Regions from separate parts of the Homo sapiens genome. Here all the other regions are linked to region 5. Evidence: promoter capture Hi-C in 16 types of primary human blood cells and fetal thymus (Javierre and others, 2016). All regions are on one chromosome and are shown on one strand. Each heading gives the region's core, a stretch centred on a gene start or on the middle of the fragment in contact. The rest is flanking DNA. Distances are from core to core; before and after follow the strand shown.

Region 1 (4,493 bases), core at 230-2,729, 1.5 Mb after region 5:
CTGATCCTCGCCAGCTTTATTTCCTTCTAGGTTCCAGTTTTGCTGAGTCCCGAGTAGTTGCATACGTGAGCCACGTTCTCACATCACGACTTTGTATGTGCTGTTCTGCAGTCCCTGTTGCTCTCTGGCCCTCTTCTCTCCCTCCTCGCCCCGTCTCACACACAGGCATTCTCTTGGCCTGGCTAATCTCTACTGATCCTTTAAACAAGAACTTCCAAGGGATATGAGAATAGAGGTGGGATTTGTAAGATTTTATTGTTTCAGATTTAGAAGTTGGATAGGTGGAGAGGAGCAGGGAAGACCATGCAGTAGGGATTAGGGAGCAGAATTATGGAGATCATTTAGAAGGCTGTTGCCAGACCTGTGGTGAAAATTGCCTGGGAGTGAGGCAAGGAAAATAAGGGATGTGGTGTGGAGAAAAGCTTCCCCCTAAAGCAGTATTGGTGGCCCCTGGCAATCAATCACAGGTGGAGTGATTGATTCTGAGCAAAGAGGTAATGCAACATGGTAAACAGAGACAGTTCCTACAGACAGACTTTTCTGGGGTGCTTTGGCAGTGGCCAAAGGCCTTGGAAGACTTGGAAGAAGGACTTCCCACTTTGGCTGCTGAAGTACTCCTGTCTCTGAAGGGCTTGAAAGCACTACTATTAAGCAAGGAATGGCTACTGCTAGCCTGGGAAAATGGTGGTGGGCTTGGCAAGTTGCAGGAGGCAATTAAATTGTATCCATCCCCTCCTCCCACACGCTCTGAGTTTGGAGGCTGTGGACCGCAAGGATGTCAGCTCTAAAAACATTTGACAGCCCTGGGGAGAGTCTCTGGTTCTTCCTTATCCATGACAGGCAAGGCAGACCACAGGTCACAGTTTCTCCCTGGCCTCTGTTAGCCTCTGATAAGCAAAACCTTCGGTGGGGAGAAATTGTTCTACTTTTTTACTTACTCAGATATAGTGAAATGTGTGCTTTTTCCCACTTCTGGGAAGCTAAGATTTATTAGAATCTGCAGATTGCTTCCTTCAAGTAAACATTATATAAAAGGGTCCTAGTTTCCTAGTGGGAGTTTAGTTTGTAGGCTAGTTCTACAAAGAGATAAATAGGGGTTTGTCCATTGTGTGCTCTCCAAATGCTCTATAAAGATTAACTCATTAATCCTCAGCCTCCTTGTGAGGATTGTTATCCTTCTTTTTCAGCCGTGGAATTGGGACGAAGTGCTGCACGGAGGGGCCTTGCCCAAGGCTACGCAGCTGGTAGACGGGGAAATGAGGCGGTTGCCGGCCGCCTCGCAGGCAGCTTTCCCTGTGAGGAAGGAGGTGCCTCGGGCCTCTGAAGAGGTAGCTGGGATAGCCTGAAATGAGCTGCTGAAAGCCCACGCTTCAGAAAGACAAAAAGCAAGCAAAACACACTGATGTGGTTGACACTCGCTGAGGATGTGCGATAACACAGACAGTGCCCGGGTTGAAGTGGGCCTTCCAGAGTTCCGTGGCAGCCGTGAAAGGAAAGTTAAATGAATAATGGCAATAACATTGTAAAGGAATGCTTCAGTACCTGAAATGTAAAGTGCATGAATGCTTACCAAAATTTGTCGTATTGTTATACTATTGCCTTATGTTTGTACGGTGCTTTCCAGTTCTGAAAGTGCTTTCACATGTTAAATGATTTGCTCACAATAGTTTTTCAAAGCAAATAGGTAGATATGGGTGGAATGACGTCTCCCCCTTCCCAAATTCATGTGTTGAAACTCTAAGCCCCAGTACTTCAGAATGTGACTGTATTGGGACACAGGGCCTTTAAAGACTTGAACAAGCTAAAATAAGGCCCTTAGCGTGGCCCTAATTCAATCTGACCAGTCCTTAGCAGAAGAGGAAATGAGAACACACAGATAGACAGCAGAGGTGCCAACATAACAGAGGAAAGGCCACGTGAAGACACAGCAAGGAGGTGGCCGTCTCCAAGCCAAGGAGAGAGGAGAAACCAAACCCGCTGACACCTTGATCTTGGACTTCCAGCTTCCAGAGCTGCAAGAAATAAATTTCTGTTGTTTAAACCACTCAATCTGTCATCTTTTGTTATGGCAGCCCTAGCAAACTAATATAGTAGACCATTTTGGAACACCTTTAAACATGTTAGAAATACTCATTTCTAACTAGAAAATATTAGTCACATAACAATTAGTTACATAACTTCCATACTGTCTCAGTAATAATAATATTAAAGATGACTCACACCTACTGAGCCTTCACCGTGTGCCAGACACCATGTAAATGTCCTACTTCATTTAATCCTCATAAAATGCCTCCAAATAAACAAATAGGGAAGAAGAAATAGCTCTTCCTTACAGTAGAATTTCAGTTGATACATGTAGAAGGAATCAGAAAAATAGAAGATTAATATTTGGCAAATGCCATAGTAGTAATTGCTGTAGGCAAGCCCCATGGATGGATACTATAATTAGTTGGTGAAAGTATGAGAAATAGAATATTTGTATAGTCTCAAAGTATCTCCCTAAAAGATATTTACTAATTACAAAGGGAAAAAATAGTAAGCTTAACAGTGGAGAAACCCAACATACATCACTTTAACCAAGTGGTCAAGAATAACCTCATCAATAATAGGACATACCAAGATCATGTACCTCCAGATATGATGCACTGAGAAGGGCACAATATCCTATTTGTGCCATTCTTGCCAAAAATGCATAACTTCAATCTATTCATGAGAAAACCTGGGGGACATTTTGAAAATAACTGTCCTGGATTTTCCAAAACTATCACTGATTGAAGAAGATGAAGAAGATATAATAGCTAAATGCAATATGAGATCCTGGATTGGATCAAAAAAAAGAAATCTGTGGGAAAACTGGTGAAATTCAAACAAGGTCTGTAGATTTGGTTAATATTGTTGTATCAATGTCTATTTCCTGGTTTTGATAATTGCATTACATTTATGTAAGATACTAATATTTCAATAAACTGGGTGAAGTGTATATAGAAACTACAATTTTTGCAACTTTACTGTAAGTCTAAAGTTATTTCAAAGTAGAATTTCTTAAAAAAACCTTCATGTTCTAATGAGTGTACAGTTTCCGTTATGCAAGATGAATAAGTTTTAGAGATCTGCTGTGCAACATTAATGTATTGTGCACTTATGAATTTGTCAAGAGGGCAGATCTCATGGTAAGTACTCTTACCACAGTAAAAAACAAACAAATAAAAATCCCTTTTAACTAGGTGCTATTAATATTTTCTCAAGTAAGTTGGCTTACTCAGGGTGAGACAACTTGTTAAGGGTGGAGCAAAGCTATGTACTCAGGCTGTCTGACTCTAGAGCTTATCCTGTACCCTATGATATATCCTCTTAGTACTTTTAGGAGACAGTGGAATTGTTAGCTTAGTTTTAATTTTTCATAGACTTGTATTCCTTTAGTCCTATGTTATAAAAAGCTTTTTCTAAATCATCCTGCCTCCCTTTAGTCCATGTGGAGGAGATTCTGGCAGAGTTGTTGAGTCAGAAGAAATACAAGCATGAGTAGGACACTGTACTGGAAACCATTGCCCACACAAAGAAGTAGCCGACTTCTCTGCTCTCCTCAGGAACTTACAAAGAGCTGAGACAGACAAAAGACAACTAACAATACAGAGCAGAAAACAAGCACCAACAAAGTAGTAGAGGCTCTGTGTGCCATGGGATGTTAGAGGAGAGAGGCCTGGTATAAGCTTCCTGATGGAAGGAGGAGGTGACATTTGACCTGAGCCTTCAGGAATGAGAAAGATTGCCAAAAAAAAAAAAAAAAAAAAAACAAGAAAAAGAAAAAGAAAAAAGGAAAACCATGGGGAAGAACATTGTAGATAGATAGAGAAATTGCAGCCATCGGAGGTCTGTTGCCTTGCCACCTGTTGCCCCTCATGTGCAGCAAGTCAATAGATCGAGACATGGGGTTGCAGCAGAGAATGAGGTTTAATAACAGGACCACCAAATGAGGACATTGGAAGGAACCTCAAATCCACCTCCTAAAGGAATTTGTGGCTAGGGGTTATAGAGGTTTGGGAGTAGGCTGAAATTTGGAGATCATTGATTGATCAAAGAGTGGAGGGTGAAGTCAGGGCAAGGAGATGAAGAAGCTGTATTTTCATGCCAATTCCATTCCTCCTCAGTGGGGGTCTTCAAACTGGTTAGCATCAGCTATTTTGCTGGAATTTGGGATCTGAAAAACATCTTAAACGGTTCCTAAACAAAAGCCTTATGATTCTAATGTCAGAGATCCTGTCTACAGGAGCAGTGGAGATGCAAATCAATTCTTAAAGTCTTATGATCCTAATGCCAGAAATACTATCTAGGCTGGGCTGAGAGACTGAGGCAGGAGGATCGCCGGAACCCAGAAGTTTGAGACCAGCCTGGGCAACGTGGCAAGACCTTAATTCTACAATTAAAAAAAAAAAATTAGATGAGCATGGTGGCATGCACCTGTAGTCCCAGTTACCCTGGAGGCTAAGGTGGGA
Region 2 (4,218 bases), core at 361-2,860, 1.1 Mb after region 5:
CGGGATAATTTTTTCTTGCTGGGAAGTATAATATAGCTACTTTAAAACCTATTAATTCAATACTCACGTTTAGGGTTATGGAATTTTGAAACGGGAAATAAATTTCCTGACCATTTAGTTTGTCATTCTCTTTTGTATATGTGGAAATTGAGACCCAGATAAATTTAATTAACTTAGTCACCTAGCTGATACTAGAAAGAAAGTTCCCTGATTCTCCCATCGCAAGATTCTTTTCTATATAAATTGTCTTCACTAGCTGTATATTATTTATTGTTTAAACCAAAAATATTTGGACACACATACTCACACATAAGTATGCTTACCTGAGAATTTATATTTAGCTTATTTTAACTCAACCATGCCGACTTTCTCTGAGACATTATTAAAACACACAGCATATTATATAATATTTCTCTGTGGTGCTTCAGAAATATATATATTCATTCATATGTTCCCTCCCAGAAAATCAAGCTCCATTCTCTATTTCTTCAATATGTGAAAATAGAAAGAGGTATGTGGATGAGAAAAAGAAAATGAATCAAAAATAAACCTTAACCAGGGAAATTTCTGGCTCTTTGATGAGGTTGAGGGTCATAGCATCATGCATCAGATGTTTTATCAGAAATACAAGCACATTTTCCCTTAATGTTCTGTTCCAATAGGCATTGTTATACAGGATAAAACTTTAAAAATGCAACTTTCATTGTGATAAGTAGTGTGATATGATACAAGACTGATGAAATATTCCATAATATAATGCCAAATATATTTTTTCTCAACTTTAGCACTACTGACATTTTGGGACACTTAGTTCTTTGTGGTGAGGGCCTGTCTTGTGCATTGTGGGATGCTTAGCAGCATCTCTGGCCTCGACTCACTAGACGCCAGTAGCAAGCCCTCCATTGTAACAACCAAAAATGTCTCCAGACATTGCCAGATGTCCCCTCGGGGGCAAAATCAGTCCAGGTTAGGACCTACGGCTATAAAGTAAGACTGATTGCTTCAGATATATATATTTTTAAACTACTGAAAATATTCCAATCAAGAATTTGATTCTTTTTCCTTTTAGATAAAAGAAATATTGACATATGAAAAAGAAAAGAGACTTGAGGCCTCTCTAGATTAAATAAATACTTCATTTACATATTCCTTCTGAGCTAGAGCTAAAGTGGGCCCCTTAAATTGCTTTCAGTACTTGCATACTTACTCTCGCTTCTTTTTATACTCTAAGGTATAATTCTGACACAGTTACTACTTCACAACCAAGCTTTCTTTTTAACTGTTGGCCAAGCTGCTGTTTATCAGTGATGGCTTTTACAATATTCTTTAATTTTCCTGCTATTGCAAAGTTCTCTTTACACGTTATGGCCTGTGAATCTTGGGGCAGGTATTTTCATCCCTATTCTTCAGATGAAATTAAGTCAACCCAGGACTCAGTGCATGTTTCTAGGGTACCAAATGGTCTTTTTTTCATCTATGGTAGCTATATATTTGAGTTGTATATTAAGAAGGCTTTCAAGGAGTGGAGGAAAGAAGAATGAGGGAGGGGAAGAAGGAGGGAAGGGAGAAAGTGAACAAAGTTGAAAGCAACTTAGTGGAACAATAAACGATAAAAGCTGGCATGGGATAGAGGATGATATAATCTCACCATTTAAGTCATTGTGGCAACCTTTGAGATTCAGTACCTTCATACTCATCCTCCATCACAGCAATATCCTCCACTCCCTCTCCCACATTCCACTCCCTGTCCCTCCTACCCCCTCAAGTGCATGTATTCTAGCACACACAGATATCCCTTCCTGGCCTCAGGTTCAAAGCCTTAGGTCTTCCCAGAGGAAACAAATGTGGCCATTTCTGTTGCTTCCAAACGGTTTATTGCTGGTACCAGGAAATTTTCATTGTTTATACTCTAAACCTTGGAGTAAAGTTTTTAGAAGCTGTCAAATGCTTCCTGAAGCTTATATTGCCCTCCAGTTTTTTTGATAGTTGATTGCCTGCCTTTTCAGTCTTCTCAACACAGAGTTCTATGAATGAGCAGCCTTTCAAATCCAGCACTATTTGAGTATTTTATATGTAGAAAAAATATATGAAAGAACCTGTTAAATAATACTCAATTTTGGGAAACTGACAGGAAACAGGTGCTCTCAGATGTGGTATGAATAGGCTAGCCATGTCAACACCTCTGGAAGCATTTAGCAGTATGTAGCAAAACCCTAAAAGCACACACACTACTAGATAGACCCAGGTATTGAACTTTGTTGGACTTGATTTTAAAGAAATAATTATAGATATGCTCAAAGATATCTTTTCAAGGCAAAGATACTTATCCAAATGTTTTTATAATGGTAAAAAAGTATAAAATAAAATGGTAGTATGATTGAGTGCATAAATTATGGTTTATTCATATAATAAAATACCAGATAAATCATGCTAGTAAAATATATGCCTAGAAAAGTCTGCAGGAACACATACAAAAATGCCATTGTTAATTGGGGTAGTGGGCTTTTAATTACTTCTTTATACTTTTCTGAATATGCCAAAATTGCCGGAATGAATATATACTGCTTTAATCATAAGAAAAATAGTATTTGACAGAGCGAGACTCCGTCTCAAAAAAAAAGAAAGGAAAAACAGTATTTGAAATAAATAATGAATAGGAGATGAAACTGCCATGGTTCCTTACCCATAGTTAAATGCAAATAATTTCCTGAATGTCTCACCTGGTGGATGCAGGGGCTTCCTAACACCTAGGTGGTGAGTGGAAGGATTAATTCTGTCCTTATTATCAATAACACTGTCATCCCAACAGCTTTCATTTACTGAACATCTAAAATGGGCAAGGCACTGTGCTGTATTTATGCAAGTTATCTCTTTTATTCCTTAAAACAAACTCCAGGCAGATATTATCCTTATTTTGCAGATAAGGAAACTGAGTAAAGAGAAAATGAGGTCTAGCAAGGATTTGAGCCCAAGTATTCTAATGGCAAAGTGTGCACAATTGACCCGCTACGTTGCATTGCTTCTCTTACAAAGTTTTAAGCCTGAGCATCTCTTCTCCAGATCATTTGAGGCAAGAATAAGAGGCGTTCAGGGAAAGACAGCTTTAATAGGAGTCTATCTACAATGCAAGAGTCTTTGTAATGTAGACTGAACTGCACTTTGGTTTCATATTATTTGCTCTATAATATCTGAAACCATGATATGATTAACTTATGTGATGCTTAAGACAAGTTTAAAGACACAAGATGGGAAATAAAATTTGGGAATATTTTTTCATGGGTAATGTGGCTAATGTCTCTACCTTATTCTCAGCAACATATTAGAGTATCATATCTAGAAATGTGTAAGAACACCAATCACAAAAACATGAGTCTGCTTAGTTAACACAGAACACATGGATGGCAAAAGTTTCTTTTATTTATCTGCTAGAGGAATCATAAGAGGCAAAAAAGTACTACCAATATTGGACAAAACAGATAACTGACATTATCGATTTTTAGTAAGATTCTTAGTTTCTTTGTTTTTGTTTTTTACAATCTGACTGCATTAAGACACATATACTCTTTAATGTAAAAAAAAAACCATCATATGCGGAACTAAATGCACAAAGACCTCATTATTGGAACATTAGCCATGATTATTTTAATATTCTCACAGCTTTGCAATTTTGAGAATATACTAGCATTATATAAGAAGGAAGAGGAGAAGGAGGAATAAGAGGGAAAGGAGGAGAAAGAGAAGTTGGTAAACAGAGGCCTAGTTAAGAATTCCTTGCCTTAGTGGTGAACAAGGACTAAACACAGACAATGGGTGAAACACAGACGCTAATTCACATAACAGAGAGTAGGCAACCTTAAGAATGAATTGATGCAGACTCCTATAGAATTCCTCTGTTATGACTGGGTTCTTATTTTCTCCTCCTTGTATGTAGTTGAAATTTCATCATTATGAATAGTTCCTTGGATCTTTTTTTAAAGTTGTGAATGCAAGTGTTTGGCTTTGTAATACAACTTTTTAGTATCCAGAAGATAACCAGTGCTCTACCAATAAAGATCTTTTGATACAAAGGGTTTTAACTTCTGCCAGTTCTTACTCATTTTTTTCAGGTTTTTTATACATTTCTTAAACAACACATACATTATGTAAAATATAAGAATTAATGTACATTCTCAAGGTCAGATTCAGTGACAAAATGCACTACCCGAATCTAGTAACACA
Region 3 (4,711 bases), core at 854-3,353, 1.7 Mb after region 5:
ATGTACTGCTACACATTGTTGTTATCTATTCTGTAGTGGAAATACACATTCCAGAACTGGATGTGGCATGGTGTAATTTTCCTGTCTAATTAGCCCTAGCACTCTTAAGTTAAAGGCTCACACTGCATGTCCGTTGGCATGACATCAGTCCACCACTGACTCTGACTGTCAGCAGGAATCTAAATATTTGGGCCAATGCATTTTGTCTAGAGCTTATATTTGTAGTTCAAAGAGAACTTCTTTGTAATGAAAAAAAAAGCATTTTTGTTATTATGTTTCCTCTTCTTTGGAATTAGCAACTATCCCAATTAAGCCTCTCTAACTTCTCCTACTTCCCCAATAGGCATACCTCTTGAACTGCTTTAGTTACCAACAAAAATGGGAATGATAGGTCTTTGTAATTAGCTTTTTAGAGATAGAAAAATCACAGCTATTAACCCCAGACTGTGTCTAATGTGGAGTCTCAACTTAATAAATTAGCTAGAAGTATGCTGCCTTTCTCTGTAGTGAAGCCTTATGGCAGCCCTGGCTTATGGCTGCTGGTTACTGATGAACCAAAAAGATTGTTGTGAGGCTATTTCTATTGTCCTACGCTCATCATCTTAGGTGTGGAAGAGTCATTAAAAAATTAAAGTTATCAAAGAATTATTAAAGATCACTGTTTCGTCCCTTCCCTGCCCCAGTGCTGGTACTCTCTTTACAACATCTCCCCCACGTGGTAGCCTTGATCCTGATAGAACTCACCTCATGAGCCTGAGGCAAAAATAGTCTCCAGCTTCCAGCAGACAGTTACAATTTGGAGTTATCCATCAAAATAGTCTACTTAAAACTGTAGAGAGCTATAGCTTAGAAGGAGACATAAATGTATAAATAGATAAATTGATATAAAATGTTGTGAGTGCTTTGATATAGGCACAAATAACTTGTTAAGAAACAACTAACTGCCTGGGAAAGTCTTGGAAAGATACCCTGAGGAGACATTGGAATCTGTCTTGAAGAATAAGTAGAAGTGAGTGTGTGTATGGGTGGGGGTGAGGGGGACTGGGAGTGAGTAAGAATATTTCCACAGAAAGAATAGCCGGTACAAAGATATGAAATCTGGAAAAGGCTGCGTTAAGCCAGGGCAAGAAGTTGAGAATGGCTGGATGGAAGGGCTTATGAAGTGGATTCTCTTTTCAGAAAGAGATGGCTTGAGCCTGGCTATTTGGGGGTTTGCTTGTTCAACCAAGAAGTTTAGATTTTATCTTACAGAAAAAGAGAAGACATCAAGAGGTTTGAAGCATGGGAGTGACTTGATTTGATTTCCAGTTTAGAAAGATAACACTAGTGGCAGTTTTGAATACTTATTTGATGGAGAAGGGAGTGAATCAGGGATACAGGCTGGGTGTAAAGCACTCTGCCCTCCCAGCAGCCCAGGTGGCCTGTTTTTGGTTCAGAAAATAAAGTTACTGTTTATAGAGACAGACTTAACTGGTTGTGATAGATCATTGCAAAATGTTATGCCTGATGTATGAATATTTGCAAAGTAAAATGGAAAATTGTGGCAATTGCTTGGATTATGCAGGGAAACAAAAATTGACTTGAAATACTAACATAAGGAATTTTAAGATGGAAAAAGCATAGATCAACGAGCAAAAGCTTTCTTTTTTTTTCCCCCATGAAATGATCAACTGTAATTTGGCTGGACGTAGTCTTAAGCATATACTCTTATAATCTCATGATTTCAATAGTATGTTTTTCTGTGACATCCTTATGGATCACAAAGTCACAATGGCATAGTATAAAATGGAATCACATTAAAAAATTATATTCTAGGCTGGACGTGGTGGCTCACACCTGTAATCCCAGCAATTTGGGAGGTCGAGGTGGGTGGATCACTTGAGGTCAGGAGTTTAAGACCAGTCTGGCCAACATAGTGAAACCCCATCTCTACTAAAAATACAAAAACATTAGCTGGGTGTGGTGGCATCCGCCTGTAATCTCGGCTACTCAGGAGGCTGAGGCAGGAGAATTGCTTGAACCCTAGAGGTGGAGGTTGCAGTGAGCAGAGATCCCACTGCTGCATTCCAGCCTGGGTGACAGAGCAAGACCCTGTCTGAAAAAAAACCAAAAAGTATTCTTAAAAAAGAAGGCAAAATAAGATTAGTAGAGGAACCAGTGCACATTTGCATATACTTAAAAACTTGTGTACTTTTTAGCTGGCTTGTCGGGATTACAACTCTCAAGCTAGCATAGCTGATGAGCTTTTGATCCCTTTCCTCCTATGGGGTGGGGGATGGTTAGTAAAACAATATGAATAAAAGGAAATGCAGTGGTGCTCAGAAGGAGAAGAGTTTGAGCCGTCTAATTGTTCCCCACATTCCATTTTGCCTTATAGACTTTGCATCGTCTGCCCTTTTTGGCTTGCTGGCTATTCAGTTCCCATTTTCTGCATGTCACAAACAAATGCTCCCAGGATAAAGTCAGAAACAGAACTTGAGTCTATTTCAAAAAAAGATGAGGGAGGAATATGCCTGGATTAAAGCCATGAAACAAATCCCCAAATATCCTTGCTAATTTAACATGAAAATAAGCTTTTAATAGTTTATCTTTATTCATGTTACATGTTTATTTAGTAGCATCTCAGTATTGAGAAAAGTAGATTTTGCAGCCAACTGACAGAAGAGTTTGGTCTGGATACTGGTTGTCCTCCCTGCAGGGATGGTTGGCTCTTGCGCTTGGAATGTCCCGGGGCTTCCCAGTATAGAAATGTGTGCTGGTCAGAACTGATCTCTGGCATGATTGTCAATGGCATCCATGAATTGGCCCACACCAGCACATTTTCCTGCGACTTCTCAGCTTCTGGTCTGTAGCTGCTTTCCGTCATTTTGTATTTGCTGCATACTCCATCAACCTAATAAAGCAGCTGTTTATTATGCGTGACCTGCTCTATAGTGTGACTGATGGATAACTGCAGCATTTAAAGTCTTGTGTTAGATTCTCAGCCTGCTGCCAGCTCTCCATTATATTCCATAAAAATGTTTCTTGTTATGGACTATCAGAAGCAAAAGTAAGTTATTTTAGGGTCAGAGCCAATTTGAACCCTCTAAAGTACTGCCAGATTAGAAGGTGGGAGAAAATAAGAAGCAGTCTGGAAGAAGCTGCAATTAAGGGCATCAAACATATGCACAAAGCATACCTTTTTCATAGTCCTGCATATACAGACACAGAGTATTTTATGTGGAGCATGTGATCCAATATGAGCTGGTATAGTCATATCTGTGAGGTTGGAAGGCTGGTTAAAAGAAAGGCAAGGACAGACAACTCTATTTATTATTTATTATTCACTCTGGTCCAGTGCTTTGCTGTGTTCTACTGCACATTATATGTCATTGATTTTCTAATAATCCCAAGGAGTTTTTTTTTTCTCCCATTTTATTGGTAACGTCTGAGGAAACAAGCTCTGAAAAATTGTGTCAATTTCTTGGCTTCTCACAGATAGTACAGGGTGTGCGGGATGAAAGCCCAGGTTGGTTTGGTGACAATGCCTGAGTCGTTTCCACTACCCTCTCCATGCTCTCAGTTAAATGACTTCTCAGGGTGAAAGCTCCTTAAGCCAGTCCTGGGGATTCACATAGAGGACTTGACTGGCCTCCAAAAATTTGCTTCTTAAGGTTTCAGGGATTCAATAGCTAGAGATTCATCCTAACAACACAAAAGTTGATTTCCTTGTAGTTTATTTTCATAAATATATTATGTATACTAAGTTTATATTAGCAAATAATGTGATAATTTTAAAAACATGTTTATACAAACATAGCCCTTTCTTTTTCTTTTTCTTTCTTTCTTTCTTTCTTTTCTTTCTTTCTTTCTTTCTTTCTTTCTTTCTTTCTTTCTTTCTTTCTTTCTTTTCTTTCTTTTTCTTTCTTTTTCTTTTTCTTTCTTTCCTTCCTTCCTTCCTTCCTTCCTTTCTCTTTCTTTCTTTCTTCCTTTCTTTCTTTCTTTCTCTTTCTCTCTCTCTTCCTTTCTTCTTTTCTTCTTTCTTTCTTTTTTTTTTTGAGTCGGAGTCTCGCACTGTCCCCTGGGCTGGAGTGCAATGGCACAATCCCAGCTCACTGCAACCTCCGCCTCCCAGGTTCAAGTGATTCTCCTGCCTCAGCCTCCTGGGTAGGTGGGATTACAGGCACCCACCGTCACGCCTGGCTAATTTTTGTATTTTTAGTAGAGACGGGGTTTCACTATGTTAGCCAGGCTGGTCTCGAGCTCCTGACCGCGTGATCTACCCGCCTTGGTCTCCCAAAATGCTGGGATTACAGGCATGAGCCACCACGCCCGGCCTCTTTCTTTTTTTTTCTTTTTTACATGTACTGGTTTATTATAAAGGATATTGCGAAGGATACAGAAGAAGGAGTGACATGTAGCGTGAGGTATGGGGGAAGGGGCAGGGAGTTTTCACGTCCTCCCTGGATGTGCCGCCCTTCAGGGACCTCCACACGTTCAGAGTTCAGCTTGGTAGCTCGCTGACTCTGCCCTCTTGGGTTTTTATGGAAGCTCCATGATGTCAGCATTCCTCCCCCTAGGGTACAGGGTGGGATTCTCTCCTGGGAGGGTCTTAAGACCCACAATCAGAAAGATGGGGGAACATTAGAGTCCTGCCTTGGAGCAGGTGAAAGGAGAGCAGAAGAAAGATTCTATTTCCTGAGGCCTGCGCCTGAGGCCTAACACCCCCAAC
Region 4 (4,413 bases), core at 1,317-3,816, 1.1 Mb after region 5:
TTCACCGTATTAGCCAGGATGGTCTCGATCTCCTGACCTTGTGATCCGCCCGCTTTGGCCTCCCAAGTGTTGGAATTACAGGCGTGAGCCACCGCGCCCTGCCCGCCACATTGTATTTTCTATGTCTTCTGAATAGTCTCTATATCCAGCTTTGTTCTGGTCTACAAGAATATTCAACTCTATACATACTGACTTCATTCTGTAACCTGGAATACTATTTCAATGGACCTAAGAGAGGTCTCTCAGTATTTTCTAAGATTTTGGCTTAAGTAAGAACTAGTGTTTCCAAGGAAATAAAACCAACTCTATAGGAGATAATTTTTCCCAGACAAAAGTACTGGTACTTCACCCATGTTCATTGTGGCCTTATTTACAAGAGTCAAAAGGCAGAAGCAACCTAAAGGTCAATTGACAGATGAATGGATAATACATTTAGAAAATATGATACACAGGTACAAAAGAGTATTATTATTCTGTTTTTACAAATTAGGGAATTCTGATACATGCCACAACATAGATGAATCTTGAAGACATTATGTTAATTGAAATAAGCAGTCACAAAAAGACAAATACTGTATGATTCCATTTATTATGAGGTACCTAGGAAAGTCAAATTTATAGAAACAGAAAGAATGGCAGTTGCCAGGGGCTGGGAGTAGGAAGAAATGGACAGTTGTTGTTCAGTGGGTATAAAGTTTCAGTTTTGCAAGATGAAAAAGTTCCAGAGATCGGCCGCACAACAATGTGAAAACAGTTAACACTACTGAACTATATACTTAAAACCCGTTAAGGTGATAAATTTTGTGTTATACGTATTTTACAACAGTTAAACAAAAGCCAAAAAATATTGGTACTTACCTCATTGTGTTGAAGTTTAATTTTTAAAAAATCTCCTTATAGCTTCAGTAATTGACAGAAGCAGGCTCACTTGTCACTATTAAGATAAATCAAAGAATTTTCTGTGATGTTTCTGTCAGTCAGCAGGAAATTTAAAAACAAAACAAAAAATGGTGCTTTCAATGCCATTGTCCATAAGCCTTGAGTTACTTTAGAAATTAAAATTTGTTATTCTGTCTTCTAAAAATTATATTTAGGCAATGAGGTAGATGATTAATGACTTCCAGTGAGGTTGGTGCTATATTTTGGTTTTCATCTTTCTATTGAGGGTTGTATTAGTCTGTTTTCACACTGCTATAAAGAAATACCCCAGACTGGGTAATTTATAAAGGAAAGAGGTTTAATTGACTCATAGTTCCACATGGCTAGGGAGGCCTCTTATGACCATCACGGAAGATGAAGCAGGCACCTTCTTTACAAGGGGGCAGGAGAGAGTGAGTAAGCACAGGAAAAACTGCCACTTTTATAACCATCAGATCTTGTGAGAACTCACTCACTATCACAAGAACAGCATGGGAGAAACTGTCCCCATGATCTAATCACCTCCCACTGGGTCCATCCCACAACAAGTGGGGATTATGGGGATTACAATTCAAAATGAGATTTGGGTGGGGACACAGCCAAACCATATCATTCTACCCCGGCCCCTCCTAAATTTCATTTCAAAACACAATCATGCCTTCCCAACAGTCCCCCAAAGTCTTAACTCATTCCAGCATTAACCCAAAAGCCCAAGTCCAAAGTCTCTTCCAAGGCAAGGCAAGTCCCTTCTGCTTAGGAGCCTGTAAAATCAAAAGCAAGTTAGTTCCTTCAAAGATATAGTGGGGATATAGGCATTGGAAAAATGCTCCCATTCCAAATGGGAGAAATAGGCCAAAAAAAAGGGGCCACAGGCCCCATGCAAGTCCGAAATCCAGTGGGGCGGTCATTAAATCTTAAGGTTCTTAAATAATCTCCTTTGACTCTGTGTCTCACATCTAGAACATGTTGATGCAAGAGGTGGGCTCTCAGAGTCTTGGGAAGCTGTACTCCTGTGGCTTTTCAGGGTACAGTCCCCCTCCTGGCTGCTTTCATAGGCTGGCGTTTGAGTGTCTGTGGCTTTTCCAGGCGCACAGTACAAGCTGTCTGTGGATTTACCATTCTGGGGTCTGGAAGATGGTGGCCCTGTTCTTACAGCTCCACTAGGCAATGCTCCAGTGGCAACTTTGTGTGGGGACTCCAACCCCACTTCTCCCTTCCACACTGCCCTAGCAGAGGTTCTCCATGAGGGCTCCACCCCTGCAGCAAACTTCTGCCTGGACATCCAGGCATTTCCATACATCCTCTGAAATGTAGACAGAGGTTCCTAAACCTTAATTCTTGACTTCTGTGCACCCATAGGCTCAACACCATGTATAAGCTGCCAAGGCTTGGGGCTTGCATCCTCTGAAACAATGTCCTGAGCTGTATGTTGGCCCCTTTTAGCCATGGCTGAGATGCAGGGCACCAAGTCCCAAGGCTGCACAGAGTAGGAGTAGGGTCCTGGGCCCAGCCCATGAAACCATTTTTCCCTCCTACACCTCTGGGCCTGTGATGGGAGAAGCTGCTGTGAAGGTCTCTGACATGCCCTGGAGATATTTTCCCCTTTGTCTTGGTGATTAACATTAGGCTCCTTGTTACTTATGCAAATTCCTGCAGCTGGTTTGAATTCCACCCCAGAAAATGGGTTTTTCTTTTCTACCATATAGTCAGGCTGCAAATTTTCCTGACTTTTATGCTCTGCTTCCCTTTTAAACACAAGTTCCAAATTCAGATCATCTCTCTCAGGTTCAAAGTTCCACAGATCTCTAGGGCAGGAGCAAAATGCCACCAGCCTCTTTGCTAAAGTATAGCAAGAGTGACCTTTGCTGCAGTTCCCAATAAGTTCCTCATCTCCATCTGAGACCACATCAGCCTGGACTTCATTGTCCATATCACTATCAGCATTTTGGTCAAAACCATTCAACAAGTCTCTAGGAAGTTCCAAACTTTCCTACATCTTCCTGTCTTCTGAGCTCTCCAAACTTTTCCATCCTCTACCCATTACCCAGTTCCAAAGTCTCTTCCATATTTTTGGATATTTTTATACCAATGCCCTACTCTCTGCAGTACCAATTTACTTCACCAGGTAAAAAACTATGACCTGCTGAGGTGCTTGCTGAAAGCAAAGGGAATACAGAATGGGTAGTAGAAGAAGGTAGTGATCAATACCAGCTATGACCACATAAGCAGTTGCAGAAATTAGGACTGTAATTGTCATGAGTTTTCCTCCTTATTTTGTTAAGAATATGTTTATGCATGTATACACTTGTACTAAGAATAAAGAATATATCTATATTTCCCCTCTTTTTCCTGTATCCTGTGACATTTATTGACATCATATCAGCATTTAAGTGTTGTTAACTTTATGTAATGGCATTTAGGTTAAGGATTAGTATGCTTCTGGTTGTATAAAGGATAGCTGTATTGTTAGGCATAATTATGACCGTATTATTGTTTTTATGTAAGCATGCAATGGGTTCACCTTGCCTGCTACCTAGACCGAACGAATTTATCAAGACAGGGGAATTGCAAAAAAGAAAGAGTAATCTATGCAGAGCTGGTTGTGCGGGAGACCAGAGTTTTAGTGTTACTCAAATCAGCCTCCTGGAAAACTCAGGGATCAGAGTTTTTAAGGATAATCTGTTGGGTAAGGGGCCAGTGAGTTGGGAGTGCTGATTGGTTGGCTTGTGGATGAAATCTTAGGGAGTCAAAACTGTCCTTTTATGCTGACTCAGCTCCAGGGTGGGGGCCACAGAACTGGTTGGCAGGTCCAGGTGGGGCCATCCAGTTATCAGAAATGCAAAAACCTGAAAAGACATCTCAAAAGGCCAATCTTAGTTTCACAATAGTGATGTTATCTTCAAGAGTAACTGGAAAAGTTGCAAATCTTATGACCTCTGGAATAATGGCTGGTAATATTTAGAATTCCAGCCCCTCTCATCCTAACTTGGTGCCTGGTGGCCTTTCAATCATTTTACAACAACAGTTTAGCTTTTGGGAAGGGCTATTATTTAAACTATAAACTAAATTCCTTCCCAAGGCTAGTTTGGCTTACATTCAGGAATGGACGTTTAGAGGTTAGAAGCAAGACGGAGTTGGTTAGGTCTGATATCTTTCACTGTCATAATTTCCTCAGTTATAATTTTTGCAAAGGCAGTTTCATTTATTTGGAGATTAGGTATGATTTCAAGAAATGTGTATGGGTTCAAGTTGACAAGGGATGGACTTGTGAAGGTTAATATTGTCAACTTGATTGAATTAAAAGATGCAAAGTATTGTTTCTAGGTGTATTTGGGTGTTTCTGGGTGTTGCCAGCAGAGATTAACATTTGAGTCAGTGGACTAGGACAGGAAGACCCACTCTCAGGAAGACCCACTCACAATGTGGGTGGGCACCATCCAATTGGCTGCCAGCCTGGCTACGAAAAGCAGGCAGAAGGTGGGAGAAGCTGACTTG
Region 5 (4,579 bases), core at 1,028-3,527:
CTTTCTTTAATGCCCTTTATAATGTGCATTTTTTTTAAAGCATGTAGTGTTTTATAATTTCAAAAAACACTACAAAGTATGTACATGTAAGACTGTACAGAAACTGATTTGAAGGTGGTTAGATATTTTCTTTTTTCTATTTTCAAACATTCTATGTTACTTTTACTATTTTTGTTTGTTTTGATAAAGAAGACCTTCACCCCTCTTTCAAGATCCATTTAAAACGCCGTCAACTACTGTCCTATGATACAATGAAGTGTATGGACTTTGAAATATCACAGACCTAGGTTTGAATCTGTCCATTAATGTAATCCAGCAGGCACCACCATAGTGACCCTGGACAAATTATTTAACCTTACTGAGTCTTAGTTTTCTCACTTGTTAGAGACAATGCCACCAATATCAATGGCTTGCATGAGGATTAAATAAAATACTATCTCCAAAATATCTAGCACAATGACCACCATTAACAAAGTCTCCCATATAAAACTGTCTTCCTTTCTTGGATTCTTGCCTAATTCCACCAACCTGAAATAACTGTTCACTCCATAAGCTTTAGTTTTTCCTAATAAATTTTATCATGTTTTTCTGCCACATTTGGTGACTTGTCTTTTGGTAAACCTCTGGATATCAGTAAAGGTGTCCTACACATTGATCTCCATTCATTCTGACTAGCAGACAACCTTCAAAACAGTACTCATACAGTGTGATTGTTATGTGAATTTTGAGAAAATCCAATATTAAAAAAGCTGACAGGTGTGAAACAGAGAGTACACTTCACCAAAAAAATCAACATACTGGCTAACTAAATGACGAACTAAAACTCACTTCTCCAACCTAACAAAACCATCTCTTAAAAGGTCTTTGTTTTCAATAAGCTGATAGATCAAATTAAGCCCCCAACTTCAGTTCTATCCCAGTATAATACTCAAATCTTACCACTTTTTTAAAAATACAGAAGTGGCTGGGCGCGGTGGCTCACGCCTGTAATCCCAGCACTTTGGGAGGCCGAGGCAGGCAGATGACCTGACGCTGGGAGTTCGAAACCAGACTGACCAACATGGAGAAACCCCGTTTCTACTAAAAATACAAAATTAGCCGGGTGTGGTGGTGCCTGCCTGTAATCCCAGCTACTCAGGAGGCTGAGGCAGGAGAATTGCTTGAACCCGGGAGGCAGAGGTTGCAGTGAGCCGAAATCCCGCCGTTGCACTCCAGCCTGGGCCACAAGAGCAACACTCCGTCTCGAAAATAATAAATAAATAGGCCAGACGCGGTGGCTCAAGCCTGTAATCCCAGCACTTTGGGAGGCGGAGGCGGGCATATCACGAGGTCAGGAGATAGAGACCATCCTTGCCAACACAGTGAAACCCCGTCTCTACTAAAAATACAAAAAATTAGCCGGGCGTGGTGGCGGGCGCCTGTAATCCCAGCAGTATACTCAGGAGGCTGAAGCAGAAGAATCGCTTGAACCCGGGAGGCGGAGCTTGCAGTGAGCCGAGATCGCGCCACTGCACTCCAGCCTGGCGGACAGAGCGAGACTCCGTCTCAAAAATAAATGAATAAATAAATAAATAAAAATAAAAAATAAAAATACAGAAGCAAATGAAAATATCTGAACTGAAAAGTTTAGCTATGTTAAGAAATATTCCTAATAACACATTTACAATTTGAAAAATCCCCTTTACCCTTTAGGGCAGTATGACAAGCACACACAAAAATAAGTGCAGTGATAACACCTTGCCACCCTGGAGTCTTTCTGAAATTTTAACGACACACCAGGGCTAGGGAGTGGGAGGGTAAGGGGACTAAAAGTTCTAGATAAAAAGCCACTTTAAAAACCAAATAAGGTTCTAAGTGACCCTGATATAGGTAACCATGCCACTAGCTTTAAATATAAAAAAAGAGTTCCTACAGTTTTAAATTTAAAATTAAAAACAAAAAAAAAACTCCTGCAAGAATAAAGTCAATGATTTTCAGGATCCCAAACACGTCTCTACTTATAACCACCCATATCTTGGAATTAAAGCTTGTTAGTCAAAGTCACAGGACATATTAACCTAACTCGTTAGTGAACACTCATTAGCTCAATTCAAGCTCCAGAACATAGTTTCGGAATACAGCACCCGTTCTGCCTGGCCGACTGCCCTGGTCAGCACAGGCACTCGCTCTCCAGTCTGTCGCTAAGCTGGATTTGATTTTTAACGCTTTACAAAGAGCTTTGACATTAAGGAAAAAGACGTGACACTTACCTTGAGAAGCGAAGGCAGCCTAACCAACTTCCGGTTTTGTTACAACTTGTATCACATTTCAGCAGCTGGGTGGAGCCAGTTAAGCCTTGAGCCAAAAGGGAACCTTTCCCAAACTAAGCTGCAGAACTTGATTTGCAAGACCAGTGCTAGTTTTAGGACTCCATTTCTGAAAACTTAGAATTCTGTTTTACACTAAGGAACAGTGTTTGCCAACTAGTACCTACTTCGCCACAAAAATTATAGTTTTTGTGTTTAATTGCAAAACTATTTGAAAATACCTGTTCTATAATAGTGCTAAGTAAAAGCAAATTAACTTTTAAAAAGTGGAAAAAGATCAGATTGCATAGAACCGAAACCTTTCTGCAGTGTGAATGATATAATGCAAAAGAAATCTTTTATTTTGCAAATTACCCCTGAAATTTAGGAGTTTTGTTTCTTTTTAAGCCTTTAATCTGTTTCACAAGACTCTTTTGCAAAAGAAAAATTTTAGGGCTAGGAAAAGACAATGTAATTGAATTTTTAACAATCTTTGTTTTTATTTTGTTTTTTGTTTTCCTGTTTTTTACTTTTTTTCTTCTCTTTAATGTAATTGAAAATATTAAACATTCCATTTCAGACCTTGAGTGACATTGTAATTGCCCAGTGGGTTCACCTTGCCCGCTGTCTAGACAGAGCCGATTTATCAAGACAGGGGAATCGCAATGGAGAAAGAGTAATTCACGCAGAGCTGGCTGTGCAGGAGACCGGAGTTTTTTGTTTTGTTTGTTTGTTTGTTTTGTTTTGTTTTGTTTTGAGACGGAGTCTCTGTCTGTGGCCCAGGCTGGAGTGCGGTGGCATGATCTCGGCTCACTGCAGCCTCCCCGTCCTAGGTTCAAGCGATTCTCCTGCCTCAGCCTCCCCAGTAGCTGGGACTACAGGCGCCCGCCACCACGCCCGGCTAATTTTTGTATTTTAGCAGAGACAGGGTTTCACCATGTTGGCCAGGCTAGTTTGGAACTCCTGACCTCAAGTGATTCCACCTGCCTCAGCCTCCCAAAGTGCTGAGATTACAGGCATAAGCCACCGCGCCCAGCCCGGAGTTCTATTATTACTCAACACAGTCTCCCCAGGATTCGGAGATCAGAATTTTTAAAGATAATTTGGCGGGTAGGGGCTTGGGAAGTGGGAGTGCTAATTGGTCAGATTGGAGATGGAATCATGGGGGGTCGACGTGAGGTTTTCTTGCTGTCTTCTGTTCCTGGGTGGGATGGCAGAACTGGGTGAGCCCAATTACCGGTCTGTGTGGCATCAGCTGATCCACCGAGTCCAGGCTCTGCAAAATATCTCAAGCACTGATCTTAGGTTTTACAATAGTGATGTTATCCCCAGGAGCAATTTGGGGAGGTTCAGACTCTTGGAGCCAGAGGCTGCATGACCCCTAAACCATAATTTCTAATCTTGTAGCTAATTTGTTGGTCCTGCAAAGGCAGACTGGTCCCCAGGCAAGAAGGGGGTCTATTCAGGAAAGGGCTACTACCAATTTTGTTTCAGAGTCAAAACATGAACTGGATTCCTTCCCAAAGTTAGTTTGGCATATGCCCAGGAATGAACAAGGACAGCTTAAAGATTAGAAGCAAGACAGAGCCAGTTAGGTCTGTTCTCATTCACTGCCATAATTTCCTCAGTTATAAAAGGCTTTGCAAAAAGCCTTTTTGCAAAGGCGCTTTCAACATATGCAGACTGGAAAATAGATTATGACCCATGCCTTGACCTGTGAATGCTGGTTATCAATCAACCCCAGTAAATTCTTTAAACCATTTTTAAAGAGAGAACAGAGAAAGGAACACCATCACGTTACGCTTTCTCTTAAAGAACTAGTCACAATTAACAAAAGCCCCTCTCTACAGGTTATTAAAGAGAGGCTTTAAATAAAGATGACCCAGAGTTGGTTTGCTATCCTAAAGCTGCTGGGAACATGAATAGTTTTAAACTAAGTCAGCTGATCTTCAGTTCTTCAAAGCCTCAAGTGGTGAAATAGCCTTCTGCAGATAACAGACCCTTTCCAGGAACTGTCCCCATTGCATGCCAAAAGTATGATATGTCTATAAAACAAAAACTCTTCGACTATATTATCAGAACCCTACATTCTAAAGCACTCTTAGGAAGTGGTACGACACAGTGGGAAGAACTGAATGGAGAGAGAGGCTAGCTTTGTCTAAAACAACCCTTTCACTAGGCTCAGTGGCTCACATCTGTAATCCCAACACTTTGGGAGGCCGAGGGGGGTGGATCACGATATCAGGAGTTCAAGACCAGCCTGGCCAAGATGATGAAACCCTGTCTCTACTAAA
Region 6 (4,806 bases), core at 1,766-4,265, 1.1 Mb after region 5:
CTGGGTGAGGCACCCCACCCTGCTTTGGCTGGCCCTCCTTGTGCTGCACCCACTGTCTAACCAGTCCCAGTGAGATGAGCCAGGTACCTCAGTTGGAAATGCAGAAATCACCCACCTTCTGCGTTGATCACACTGTGAGCTGCAGACCAGAGCTTTTCCTATTCGGCCATCTTGCCAGCCACTTTCTCGGCCATTTTAAATTACATGGGCTATCTCCCTTGTTCCATGCCCTGTCCACTTGCTCTTTTTAAAAACATTCCTATTTTAATATAAAAATACTTCATGATGTAATATTTTATATGTGCAAAAGAAATTATATAACTTGTGCTAGCTTAAAAAGTAAAATAATAAAATAAACACCTGTTAATCCATTACCCAACCTCAGAAATTTACTATCACCAATATCGTTGAAGCTACCTGTTTGTTCCTCCCTGATCCTATTACCCTCTTTCTCCCAGGCGTTAACCACTATCTTGAGGCTTATGTTTACTTTTAGTCTTTCTATGGTTTCACCACAAAATCAGCAATGTATTTTTTTGGTTTTGAAATTCATAAAAACGGCATATCACACAACATGAAGGGCCATCAGCATATCCTCACTAGAATGTCAGCTACATAAGAGCAAAGGCTTTTGTCTATTTTGTTCACTGATATATCCCAAGTAACTATAAAAGGATCTGGCACATGGTAGGCACTCAATAAATATTTGTTAACTAAATTAATAAAAATATAAGCCTTCCAAATAGTTTTGTCCATTTCCTCATATCTGAAGCTTGACAGTTAGGCTTAGTTGCTTAACTGATTGAACACCATGATTGTCAGATACCATTTTTGGTGGTTTACTACCTTACCTAATACAGCTATTTCACTTGTGGCCTTAGTTAATGCTCTATGCATGAACTAAGCTCTTGTAAATATATCCATTTTGATAATGTAAGTTTTCTTTCTGCTTTTCTCCACTGTCTGATTATAATTAGCTGGAACAAGAAATGCTTCTTTAATATAATGAATTTTGCCTCAGTCATAGAAACTGTAAGATAGGACAAAAGAATAGATTTCCTTCTTTCTGCTGCTGAATCACAGATTCTCCTATGTAAGGAATACTTACTTAACCCAACATCTCAGGGATTCATAGATCTGACCAAACATTAGAGTTCTTTGTTGTCTTGTAATATGTATGCTGTTTTGCTGTATATCACTATCAGCATATTTTATACATTTTTAATGTAATTTACAATGCACAATTCCTTAAGTCAAATGTCCTGCACTGAGAACTCCTTCAGGGATTAGTTTTTTTTTTTTTTTCAAATGTGCATTTCTTAGGTTTACTATTTCCTTAGTATATATATTTAGAGTGTGTGTGTATATATATATATATATATATATATGTATATTTTTCTTCCTATTGCTGTTATGGAATCTTTGCTGGAGGTCCTGTGTGATAAAACCTCCAATATGTGGAATGTTATTAACATTTGCTAAAGACCTTTGGATGCAATGCAGAGTTTCTTTTCATGAGAGAATTGTGCAGTGGAAGAGAGAAGACTGCTTTGTGATTATAGCAGTTCTTTAACTGAATTAAGACAGGCAATCATTGGTGTTTCTACTGTGTTGCCAGGGACTTCTATTTATTATCAAGGCATTCTTTTATATTCTGCTTTGTAAAACTGGAAATTCCCTGAGAAATCACCAGGAAAGCTGAATGCCATATAAAGAAAAGAAAACCGAAACCAAGGAGGACAATATGTGGGAAAAAAAGAAGCTAAGACGTTAGAACTGTGCTATTTCCTAAAGATTAACATGTGTTTGAAAGATATAACAATGTTAGTTTTTGGACATAAACATACATATTGTTTGTACTAAGTGTTGCTTTTTCCTAGTCTGTAATCAATGAACAAGCATCTCTTGAATATGTAGTATTTACTTAGCACAGTTTGAGACACTGTGGGATATTCTAAAGAATAATCTGTAGAGCCCTTGCCTTTCAATAGCCTACAATAGAGTAGGAGGAATACAATGGCACATTTAAGCCATAAGACAAGGCAAGATGATACTTAATTACCATAAGTACTAAATTATGAGGTACAGACTATTAGTACTGTAAAATGTACTGGGTTCCCAGAATACTCTCCTTCCTATCTGAGTGGTAGTTACATGGGTATTCTTTTCACAACCTGTTTTAAAACTGTGCACATGTTTTATTTACCTGTTTTAAAATCATAATTCACAATAAAAATGTTAAGTGATAGAAAGAGAAGGAGAAGAATAAGGCCTGGAATAACTGGAATAAAAACTTGTGGGGAAAATATAACTTAAGAATTGGCACAGAAGAGAGAGCAGATCAATACAAATGCAAATGTAGCACAGCTGTGGATGAGTTGGGGTGCAGATGGGTTGCAAGGAAAGAGGGTACCAACTGGAGTGGGCTTGGAGTTTGGGGTGGGTTGTATGGGGTGGTGCAGTAGCTAACATGAGCCTGGACAATTTGAGAGTTAAGGGTTTTGGGGTTGAAGGAGGACCTTGAGATGGAAGTAGAGAAGCTTAGACTGATGTACCAGGTCATCCATATGTTTGGGATTTTAAATTAGGTGAAAGATTGATGACAATGGAATTCAAGAAAAAAATAATGTAGCTGTGCTATGTCTTCTTCACGAAAACAGGATAGGAGCAGGAGTGAGAAAGGGAAGCAGCAAATGAATCATGTAGCAATGAGAGCCTCCTCATCATTACTGGAGAGGAAGAAGTAAATGTAAGAAACACTACAGGTGAGAAATGCTCACGACTATGTAGCTGAGAGGATGTGGGGATGAGCAGGATAAATGAACCACGTATTTTTTGCTCTTGGGAGAATAATAGTGCCAGTGATAGAGTAGTTGGTAGAAACAGTTGGTTAAGAGGAGGAGGTAATTCTGGTCTTTCAAATGTAGAATTTGGAGTGATAATGACAGTAGGGAGTAGCTATATGGGCATAGAACAAGGGCACATAGAGAAATTTTGATGAGCATTTTCAAATGTAAAATACCACAACCAGAAATGAATCCCCATATTGTGTTATATGACAGATATCATAAAGCACCTAAACGATGCTGCTCTCACATCAAAGGCTAAAAATCAAGGTAATTCTCCCTCCTTGAATGTGGTAGCCAAACCCACATATTCCTCTCCCTTTCCATTTCTGACAGTTCCATAAATACCTAAATTCAAAGCAAAGCCTATTTATTTTATCAGGGAGAAAGCAGATGTTCCAGCTGTTGGTGATTTCTGTGCAAGATGAGCCATCCTTACTACATTTTAAATCTTTTTGAACTTGTGTCTTTTTAGCAAACTTGGAGAATTATACTATAGAAATGGAAATCTATAAAACTCCAAAGGGCAGACAGAATTAAGGAGGCAGATTTTGATTCAATAAAGAAAGAACTTTCTAAAAATGTGAATGATCCATAAATGGAAAAAACCTAAGTATATTCCCTCTTCTGGAAATATTTTAGCAAAAGCTTGACTCTGTAGAGATTCTATATATAGGATTCTTACTTTGAGTCAGTGATTGGACTAAAAGACTTCCATGACACTTTATATATTTATTTTCTCCCTCTCATGTATTGAGGCTCAGTGAGGAAAATTTTGAATAATACCAATAAATTTGCTCATTTATTCATCCAAGCAGGTTTGTTTTTCCTATGAGCCAGGAACTGGGCTAGGCATTGGGGATGAAACAGTGAAAGAGACTCTGATCCTTGTCCTCAGTAATCTTGTAGTCTAATAAGGGATACAGTGACCAAAGTGTTAAATGCTAACATCGAAGTAAATACCTGGAACTCAAAGTGAGCATAGCTCACTCTTAAAGAGTCAAAGAAGACCTATCTGAAACATCAACTATTGCACCAAACTGGACTGTTGAAGACAGAAGAGGCTTAAGTCCTTTCTATCAGTCTACTTGCCCAATATTCACTATCTACACACAAAAATTCTATGAGCAAAGCCCATTTTCAGAAAACACAGCCTTATAGAAGGACTTTCAATATGACAGAATGAACTACAGTTTCAGAAATGTAGTTTGGCTTTCTAGAAAACATAAATCCATTTGAGTCTAAAATATTTTAAAACCTAAATAAAATCCTTATCCCCATGAGATGATATGGACAAGTATTAATTGCTTTCTCCTATATTACCTTGACCCTGAACCTCCCCTATCCAGGCAACTAAACTGAATTGTTCCAATGGCCCAAGCAGAGATGTGAGGAAGAAGGGAAGGAGAGGGAATTACAGCACAATCAGAAAATAAATATAACACATTCTTGGCTTTTCAGTTTAAAATGCCCACCTATGTGATAGAAAGATTAAATCAAATACTTGCTGGAGCATTTTCCTCTCTCAGAAGAAAATAACTTAAACCTTTATCTGGACTAAGAGAAGAAAAGGGATATAGTGGAGATGGGAAACAAGATTGTTAAGACATTGACAAAACTCTCTTAGAAAAGATCACCAGACCCTACTTCCCCATACCTCTCCCTCAGTAATTAGCCCCTCGGGGAGATGAGAGCAATAGAATCCTTAGATGAAGTCAAGGTTCTGAGGGTAAATTGAAACTCTATGCTGTATCTCCGATCAGTGCTTTGCAAATTTCAATGTGCATAAAAATTACCTGAGGATTTTATTAAAATACACTTTTAATTGAGTAGTTCTGAAATGTGGCCCAGGAGTCTGCACATTCCCAGTTGATCCTAATGCAGATAATCCATGGTCCACTCTTTGAATAGTAAGATCATGGGGAATTTTTGAAGACAACCTTGTCTCCAGAAATTCCGT

Evidence for each region. Contacts are between HindIII fragments. The CHiCAGO score rates a contact against its expected background, and 5 or more counts as called.
Region 1: a fragment that was not itself captured here is called in contact with the fragment with the promoter of FRRS1 in region 5 in 1 of 17 cell types (erythroblasts); the score reaches 5.2 in erythroblasts.
Region 2: a contact is called between a fragment that was not itself captured here and the fragment with the promoter of FRRS1 in region 5, in 14 of 17 cell types (total CD8 T cells, total CD4 T cells, non-activated CD4 T cells and 11 more). The highest score is 12.3, in total CD8 T cells.
Region 3: a contact is called between a fragment that was not itself captured here and the fragment with the promoter of FRRS1 in region 5, in 1 of 17 cell types (non-activated CD4 T cells). The highest score is 6.3, in non-activated CD4 T cells.
Region 4: a contact is called between a fragment that was not itself captured here and the fragment with the promoter of FRRS1 in region 5, in 6 of 17 cell types (megakaryocytes, M2 macrophages, M1 macrophages and 3 more). The highest score is 7.2, in megakaryocytes.
Region 6: a fragment that was not itself captured here is called in contact with the fragment with the promoter of FRRS1 in region 5 in 5 of 17 cell types (non-activated CD4 T cells, activated CD4 T cells, total CD4 T cells and 2 more); the score reaches 9.2 in non-activated CD4 T cells.

What each region holds. Positions count from the first base shown.
Region 1 is chr1:101,282,845-101,287,337 of GRCh38, forward strand. No RefSeq gene overlaps it. Among named protein-coding and RNA genes, the nearest start is that of LINC01307, 39 kb to the right of the region's middle. The HindIII fragment of the contact is 2,118 bases long and covers 421-2,538 here.
Region 2 is chr1:100,868,992-100,873,209 of GRCh38, forward strand. EXTL2 (exostosin like glycosyltransferase 2) reads right to left here. Exons shown (of 5, transcript NM_001033025.3): 5 at 3,400-4,218. Among named protein-coding and RNA genes, the nearest start is that of EXTL2, 24 kb to the right of the region's middle. The HindIII fragment of the contact is 690 bases long and covers 1,266-1,955 here.
Region 3 is chr1:101,437,873-101,442,583 of GRCh38, forward strand. No RefSeq gene overlaps it. Among named protein-coding and RNA genes, the nearest start is that of LINC01307, 120 kb to the left of the region's middle. The HindIII fragment of the contact is 935 bases long and covers 1,637-2,571 here.
Region 4 is chr1:100,887,895-100,892,307 of GRCh38, forward strand. It overlaps EXTL2 (exostosin like glycosyltransferase 2), which reads right to left. Exons shown (of 5, transcript NM_001033025.3): 2 at 859-934. The coding sequence starts at 863. Among named protein-coding and RNA genes, the nearest start is that of EXTL2, 4.7 kb to the right of the region's middle. RefSeq lists a silencer at 2,066-2,266. The HindIII fragment of the contact is 9,761 bases long and covers 1-4,413 here.
Region 5 is chr1:99,764,358-99,768,936 of GRCh38, forward strand. FRRS1 (ferric chelate reductase 1) reads right to left here and starts at 2,278. Exons shown (of 17, transcript NM_001361041.2): 1 at 2,250-2,278. The HindIII fragment of the contact is 6,315 bases long and covers 2,025-4,579 here.
Region 6 is chr1:100,845,918-100,850,723 of GRCh38, forward strand. No RefSeq gene overlaps it. Among named protein-coding and RNA genes, the nearest start is that of EXTL2, 47 kb to the right of the region's middle. The HindIII fragment of the contact is 954 bases long and covers 2,539-3,492 here.